Regions from separate parts of the Homo sapiens genome. Here all the other regions are linked to region 2. The links are contacts of gene promoters, found by promoter capture Hi-C in human tissues and cell types (Jung and others, 2019). All regions are on one chromosome and are shown on one strand. Each heading gives the region's core, a stretch centred on a gene start or on the middle of the fragment in contact. The rest is flanking DNA. Distances are from core to core; before and after follow the strand shown.

Region 1 (2,700 bases), core at 83-2,582, 540 kb after region 2:
TGTGAACTCAACTACTTGGGAGGCTGAGACACGAGAATTGCTTGAATCTGGGAGGCGGAGGTTGCAGGGAGCTGAAATCATGCCACTGCATTCCAGCCTAGGCAACAGAACGAGACTCTGTCTCAAACACACACACACACACACACACACACACACACACACACACACACACACACACACAGAACGAGACTCTGTCTCAAACACACACACACACACACACACACACACACACTAAACAACATTGACCAGTTAGAAAAGGGCCCCAGGCCAGGCAAGTATTACCCATCTGATCACACACTCATACTCACCCTGGCAGGGCTATCTTAGGAAAATTGTCAAAATATCTGGGAAGTTTTGGAAATAAACTTTCTGAAGCAAGTCAGGTGAACTTTGAGGTCCACAGAGCACACTGGCCTCTTGGTACTTAGGTCCCCTCTTCTCTGGAGCCAGGGTGCCTGGGCATTTGGTGTGGAAGGAAGATGGTTACCTGTTCCCTTCCCCACCCCTTCAGCTGTCACCCACTTTGGTTTGTCAATGCTGGGCCTAATTAATTAGAAACTTCCAAAAGACGTTGATTTTTTGTTTGTTTGTTTGTCAAATTGGTTGACATAAGGTGTGAGCTCCGTGACAAGTGGGAAATGCATCTACGCAGCCTCAGAACTGGGCTTGGCTCATACCAGGCACTTGGTGAATACCAGTTGACTTCGAGGATGAATTGATCGAGGGAAAATGAGTGTGGGTGTTCTGTCATATTTTGTCCGAAGTCAGAAATTTAGGAACTGGGGGAAAAAAAACTATATTTTTTGTTGTTGTTCGTGTTGTTGTATTCAAATTCTAGGCTTCTAAGAACAATGTTTCAGCGGTTTGGTTATATGTAATAAGACAAATTCTGAGAGTAGTAAGTGTTCCATGGAATTAATTTAGTATAGTGGTTTCTGAAAATATAAATTCCTGCTTCAATTAAGTTTCAGATGACAGTTGAAGGAAGCTTCTTGCAAATCAGAAATGTGCTTAATATTTATCGAGCTACCATCTTGCCTAGATTAAGTCATTTGAACTCGAAATTGAGTCTGGTTTGTGGACTTGCAGAAGAATTAGTGTCTCAGTTCACTTAAGTAGAGCACCTAGTGGTGACAAGAATGTGATTGCTTTCCAAAAGGTGAGAAATGTCACCTAGGAGGACTACATGGGGAAGGAAATCACCTGCGTATGAAATGCACAGAGCTAGAACTTTCTGGTTATACTCCTTTGGTTTTTATTTGTGTTTCTGTACAGGCATTTCAGCAGAAAGGGCCAGTTGTGTTGAGTGTTGATTTGTTTGTAGCCTAGACTTTTAGAGCTGAAAGAAATAATACGATCCATCTTGTTCAAGACACTCATCTTACAGGCGAGGAGTTTGAAGTCCATAGAAGGAATGTTAAGTTACCCAGAGTGGACATGCTGGCGTGGCAGTCACCAGGTGAGGCTGATGGAGAGAACTGAGCTATGATTTCTTAACTGGAAACTCACCCCTGGGAGGTTTTCCCTATGCGGGGACCTTCCCAGTCCATCAAACTGACCACTACTCCAGAAATACAGAACACACAATAGACAGAAGGTGGAATATTAGAGCTTTGCAAAAAAGCAAAGACAGGCAGCCCAAGCATCCAGTTTCTTAATTAGTCGTTGTTTCTCCACAGGGAGAAAGATAAGCACTGGGATATTGCCATGGCAATTCCTGAATTGACCTGTGGAGGCTGGAGCTGGGGGTCATCAGGGAACTTGGCCCACATCTGTTGATGGAAGGAATTCCAGTTGGTTGCAGGCCCTCACGGAAGCATAGCTGAGGGTTCCTCTTTCCCATTCCTGCCTTTATCTAGTATATATTTGATTTCAGTGCACTTTAATTTTATAAAAAACTTTATTATGGAAAATTTTAGGCCGGGCGCAGTGGCTCACACCTGTAATCCCAGTACATTGGGAGGCCAAGGTGGGCGGATCACCTGAGGTCAGGAGTTCAAGACCAGCTTGGCCAACATGATGAAACTTTGTCTCTACTAAAAATACAAAAATTAGCTGGGTGTGATGGCACGAGCCCATAATCCCAGCTACTCAGGAGGCTGAGGCAGGAGAATTGCTTGAACCTGGGAGAGGGAGGTTTCAGTGAGCCGAGATCACGCCACTGCACTCCAGCCTGGGTGACAGAGTGACACACTCTCAAAAAATATAAATAAATACATAAATTTTACACCTGTACAGTGGTAGAGAGGATACTATAACCTCTCTGTACCCATCGCCTACTGCTTGGTTAGTGATTATCAGTACCTTACCAGGCTCTCTCCATCTATGCCCTTTTCCTGCCACCTCCTCCTGCCCAGTGGATTAGAGGTGACCCTTAAGCAACTCAGGGGTTAAGGGTGCTGACCCTGCCAGTCGAAAATCTGCTTGTAACCTTTTGACTCCATAAAAGTTTAACTACTACTAATCCCCTGCTGTTGATCAGAAGCCTTACCAATAGCATACACATTTGCTTAACACAAATTTCATGTTTTATGTGTTATATACTGTATCTTTACAGTGAAGTAAGCTAGAGAAAAGAAAACGTTATTAGGAAAACCGTAAGGGGCCGGGCACGGTGGCTCATGCCTGTAATCCGAGCACTTTGGGAGGCCAAGGTGGATGGATCACCTGAGGTCAGGAGTTTGAGAACAGCCTGGCCAG
Region 2 (2,700 bases), core at 67-2,566:
CATGCCTGTAATCCCAGCTACTCAGGAGGCTAAAGCATGAGCATCGCCTGAACCTGGGAGGTGGAGGTTGCAGTGAGGCAGGATTGTGCCACTGGACTCCAGCCTGGGCGACAGGGTGAGACCCTGTCTCAAAATGATAAATAAAATAAATAAGTAAATTATGTGGTATGGTAGAGGGTGATCAGAGTCTTGGAAGAAAAATAGAGACAAGAAGGGAGGATAAGCCAGTCACAAAAGGCTGCACATTGTATGATTCAATTTCTTCTTTTTTTTCATTTTTCATTTTTACCTTTTTTTTTTTTTTTTTTTTTTTTGAGGCAGGGCCTGACTCTGTCACCCAGGCTGGAGTGCAGTGATCACAGCTCACTGCAGCCTGTACCTCCCGGGCTCAAGAGATCCACCACTCAGCCTCCCAAGTAGCTGGGATTACAGGCACCTGCCACCACACCCGGCTAATTTTTGTATTTGTAGAGATGGGGTTTCACCATGTTGCCCAGCCTGGCCTTGAGTTCCTGACCTCAAGCGATCCACCTCGGCCTCCCAAAGTTTTGAGATTGCAGGCATGAGCCACCACGCCTGGCTTGTATGATTCCATTTCTATGAAATGTCCGGAACCTGTGAATCCATAGAGAGAAAAATGAGTGGTTGACAGGGGCTGGGGGAGGGGGCTGGGGAGTGACTAATGGGTGATGAAAACGTTCTGGAACTAATAGTGGTGACAGTGGCACAGCTCTGTGAATAAAAGGCATTGGACTGTGCACTTGAAAATCATGAAATCTACAGTGTATGGATTATATCTCAATAAAGCTGTTACTTTTTTCATTCATGGAGGGCAAGTCACGGCGTTTTAAGGGGTCCAGGTGGGCCTCATTGAGGTGACATTTGAGCAAAGATTTGAAGAAGGGAACGAGCTTCTCAGGCAGGAGGAATGTGGATGAAACCTATTTTGAAGTTTTCTATTTTCTAAAGTATTTTTGAGAATTTAGCATCCTACTCCATATTATGTTCATTGATTTCATATAATGTTGCATTCCCAAATATTTTGGCAAAATCAAGGGCAGAAATCGCCCCACGTCTGACCGATGTGCTTAGCTGCTCCAGCGCACTGGGGTAAGCACGCGGGCAATTGAGACTCCCGGTAACGCCCCTTGCCCTCCCAAGCCCGCCCCCAGTTATCCAGAGCCCGACGCAGGCTCAGTCAAACCCCGCCTCCGACCCCGCCCCGAGCCGCTAAGACGCTCCCGGTGGCCCGCCCTTAGACTGAGGCAATGCGCATGCCCAGCGCCGTATCGCGCACGCGCTCTCTGCGGCTTTCCTTGACCTCTGACCCGCCGACCACGCTTGATCCCCGGCCGCGGGGCCAGGAAGTCGGAGTTTGAGCCCCGGAGGCAGAGCGGCTGCCATGGTGAGCCCCGAGTCGGGCGCTACCGGGGAGGGGAAGCCGAGTCGGGCCGGGGGCCGGGGGCCGGGCGGCGAGCTCCGGGCTGGGCGGCGGGCGCCGTGCGCCCCCTGCGTGCCCGGCGGGAAGCATGGTCTGGGGGCGTTGCACCCGGGGGAATCGAGGCCGGCAGCGGCGGCACCGGCGGCCTCAGGGCCAGGGAAAACCGTCTGCCTGGAAGAGGCCGGGCAAACGTGGTCGCGCTGTGCCTAGCCCGCGTGTGAGCGAGCAGCCGTGGGCAGCGGTGGAGCATGAGTCTGGCTGGTGAGCGCCTCCCCTGCCCTGGAACCTTACAGCGCTGCAGAGTCGATGTTGCTGCCCTGTTGTTATCCCCAGTGGAAAGCTGGCCTTTCCAGGGAAGTGGCTGACCTGGGACTTGAACTAGGCCCCGAGACACCGAGCACGGAGCGTTTGTGTGATATCGTTGGCACGTAGAGCCAGTCAACAGACCTGCGCCACACTGTCAGGTCACCTAGGGTAGCTTTAAAAGTGCAGGTTTGGCTGGGCGCGGTGGCTCACGCCTGTAATCCCAGCACTCTGGGAGGCCGAGGCGGCGGATCACGAGGTCAGGAGTTCGAGACCAGCCTGGCCAACATGATGAAACCCGGTCTCCACCAAAAAATTTAAAAAATTAGCCGGGTGGGGTGGTGCGCGCCTGTAGTCCAAGCTACCCGGGAGGCTGAGGCAGGACAGACGCTTGAACCCGCGAGACAGAGGTTGCAATGAGCCGAGATCCGCCAGTGCACTCTAGCCTGGGCGACAGGGTGAGACTGCGTCTCAAAAAAAAAATTATATATATGTATTATATATACCGTATACATTTATGTATACTACATATTATTATGTTATATATATTTTTATATATCATGTATTTTATATATATATATACACACACACACACATAATATATACATATGTTAGCCAGGCATGGTGGCACACACCTGTAATCCCAGCTGCTTGGGAAGTTGAGGCGCCAGTATCGCTTGAACCCAGGAGGCAGAGGCTGCAGTGAACCAAGATTGTGCCACTGCACTCCAGTCTGGGCGACAGGGCAAAACTCTCTCAAAAAGAAAAAGAGGGGGAAAAAAAAAGTTCAGGTTCTTGAGCTCTATCCCTGGAGGTTCTGCACACGTAAGTTCCCCAAGTGACTCTGTTGCAGCTGGTTCGGGGAGCCACTTCTTAACTAACATAGTAATAAGGATAATGTAACAGCTAACGGCGTACAAGTGCCAGCCCCTGAGCTAAGGCTTTATGTAGAGTCT
Region 3 (2,700 bases), core at 154-2,653, 560 kb after region 2:
CCTCCCACATTACTGTAAAAGTTTTTTCTTTAGTATATTGTGATGGCTAAATTTCTTGTGTTTTAGGGCACATTTCAGTAATAGGCTCTTTAAGTGCCAAAATATTCATTGTCAAGTTTGTAGTTATACAATATTCTATGAATAATGAGCTAGAATTTTATTCTTAACTTTAATTTGGGGGTGTGGCTTTTTGAGGATCTTTTGTTTTTAGTACATACTACCATGACAGTTGTAAACTTTGGTGATTTCTCTTTTTAAGAAACACTTATGTGGTTTTTGTTTTAAAAGAAAAAAGAAGCGTATGTGGTTTTTTTTTTTTAAACCATCCTTATAACGGCCTGAGTGTTGTGAAAATTGATTCTGTGCATGCTCTCTCAAGTGGTAAACCACAGGTTTTCTACTAGTCAGAATGTAAGATATTACCAGGATGATTTTATAAAGTCACAAGGAAGATTTAGATTAACTTGCTGCAAGGTTTTGGTAGTTTTTTTTTACAAAAGTATGATTGACAAGGTTTCAGCAATATCCTTTTTGTAAATTTTATTGTTTTTTCTCTTCTCCCAAAGCAAATTATGCTTATCGTGTGTGAACTCTTGAGTTAGGAACCCAGAGAGGAAAATGTGAATCTGACCCTACGTTGGCTTAAGGTTGGGTTTTGAAGACAATATATATGTTAAAAATAACGTAAGGGTGACCTCCCTCAAAGGACCGAGGTAGAGACAAGTCAGTGCAATCAGCATTCTTTTCGAGGAGAATTGGAGCGCACCTGACTACTTTGTAGAGAAAGGTGGGACTTGGTGGAGCCCAGTGCAAACAGAATAACAAAGGAAGAACATTTCAGACAGTGGGGACAGTGTCTGCACAGTGCACAGCTTGTGAGGGCATGCATTTGACTGGACTGGGGTTCCTGTGCAAACGAGGTGAACAGAAAGGTGGACTGTGATGAGCTCCTGGAAGCCTCAGGGACTCTGCCGAGACCCACCTGTGCTCGCTCTGTGGAGACTGCCTTAGGGGCCCCGGGACTCTGCTTTTTAGGCAGTGTTTCCCACAGGCCAGCGCTGGTCTTACCTGATGCACACTTCCTTGGTCAGCACATGCTCCACTCTCTTAACTTCTGTGATTAATGTCTCTACTGAGAGAACCTTCCAGAATCACCTGTGGCGCTAATCTGAGGTTCTTTGAAATGAAGCCCAGACCATTGATTACCTTTTTGGCCTGTGTTGAGTTTTGTTTGGTTGGTTGGTTTGTTTTGAGACGGAGTCTTGCTCTGTCACCCAGACTGGCATGCAGTGGCATAGCCAAGTCTCACTGCAGCCTCAACCTCTCGGGCTCAAGCAGTCATTCCACTTCAGCCTCCTGAGTACCTGGGACTGCAGGCATCTGCCACCATACCTGGCTAATTTTTGTATTTTTTGTAGAGATGGGGTTTCACCATGTTGCTCAGGCTTGTCTCGAACTCCTGAGCTCAAGTGATCTTCCCACCTTGACCTCCCAAAAGTCCTGGGATTAGAGGCGTGAGCCACCGCGCCTGGCCTCATTCGATTTTTCCTTGAATTGTTTTTTAAAGATTCTGTAATCACTGATCTCGAGTTAACCATCCCTTATAGCAATATTCAATTTTTTTTGAATAATTAGGACTTGCCAAGATAAGTATCTTATGTCAGTCCTGGCATCTGACCTCCAGTAAATTCAGTGCACAGAGTGGCATGGTTGACTGGGCTTTGGGACCCGTGAGCAGGTTCCCCTCTTGGGGCTTATGCTGCCTCACTTGTGAAGTTCTTGCTGCTCAAAGTGTAGGCCTCAGGGAAGCCATAGAGGTGCTCCCAGGTTGTAAGCAATAAAGAAATTGGGCCCCCATTTGAGACCTCTTATATTAAAACCTGCATTTTTATAAAAATCCTGGGTGATTAGTGTGCACATTAAAATCTGAGATGCACTGCTCTGGATGCCTTGGAAGACCAGGTATCTGGGCCAGTGCTGGTGAGAGGGTTTGAGTCATTCTCTGAGAGAGAGACCAGGGGTTTTCCAACCTAGAGTCCCCCAGGGACTGTTGAAGCAAGTGTGCAGGGTCGGCCCCAGAGCCAGCCTAATGCACGCACTGTCCCGGCTGCGTCAGCCATGGCCCCAGCTGCTGCCCGGCATCTCCATGAGTGTAGCTCCCACTGCTTCACCTGGCAACATGTTCCATCTGTAGGTGCCTCAGATTGTTTAAAACACCTCCTTTTGGCCGGACGCAGTGGCTAACGTCTGTAATCCTTGCACTTTGGGAGGCTGAGTGAGACAGGCGGGTTGCCTGAGCTCATGTTCAACACCAGCCTGAGCAACACAGTGAAACCCCGTCTCTACTAAAATACAAATAATTAGCTGGGCATGGCAGCATGCGCCTGTAGTCCCAGCTACTCGGTATCCTGAGGTGGGAGGCTGAGGCAGGAGAATGACTTGATGAACCCGGGAGGCAGAGGTTGCAGTGAGCCAAGATCGCACCACTGCACTCCAGCCTGGGCGACAGAGCAAGACTACGTCTCAAACAAAACAAAACAAAACAAAAAACCAAAACAAAACAAAAAAAAAAACCTCCTTTTTTTATATGGAGTCAAGATCTCCGTCCTTTGAACTGCCACTCATCGAATAGCCCATCAGGTGCCCAGTGAGTGTGTGTGGAGCAGGCCCTTTGTTCACTTGAGGGCCCTTCAGAGATTT

The links. The method cuts DNA at HindIII sites, captures the fragments that hold promoters and counts their contacts. A contact is called where the count stands out against the background at its distance.
Region 1: a fragment that was not itself captured here is called in contact with the fragment with the promoter of PAM16 in region 2 in 2 of the 25 tissues and cell types used here (mesenchymal stem cells and mesendoderm cells).
Region 3: a contact is called between a fragment that was not itself captured here and the fragment with the promoter of PAM16 in region 2, in 1 of the 25 tissues and cell types used here (dorsolateral prefrontal cortex).

The regions. Positions count from the first base shown.
Region 1 is chr16:3,811,697-3,814,396 of GRCh38, reverse strand. The region is part of intron 2 of CREBBP (CREB binding lysine acetyltransferase); the gene reads left to right. Among named protein-coding and RNA genes, the nearest start is that of CREBBP, 68 kb to the left of the region's middle. The HindIII fragment of the contact is 6,097 bases long and covers 1-2,700 here.
Region 2 is chr16:4,349,937-4,352,636 of GRCh38, reverse strand. It overlaps PAM16 (presequence translocase associated motor 16), which reads left to right and starts at 1,316. Exons shown (of 5, transcript NM_016069.11): 1 at 1,316-1,405. The coding sequence starts at 1,403. All of the region lies in intron 27 of CORO7-PAM16 (CORO7-PAM16 readthrough), which reads left to right. The HindIII fragment of the contact is 27,496 bases long and covers 1-2,700 here.
Region 3 is chr16:3,787,503-3,790,202 of GRCh38, reverse strand. All of the region lies in intron 5 of CREBBP (CREB binding lysine acetyltransferase), which reads left to right. Among named protein-coding and RNA genes, the nearest start is that of TRAP1, 71 kb to the right of the region's middle. RefSeq lists enhancers at 1,918-2,217, 2,288-2,347. The HindIII fragment of the contact is 10,000 bases long and covers 1-2,700 here.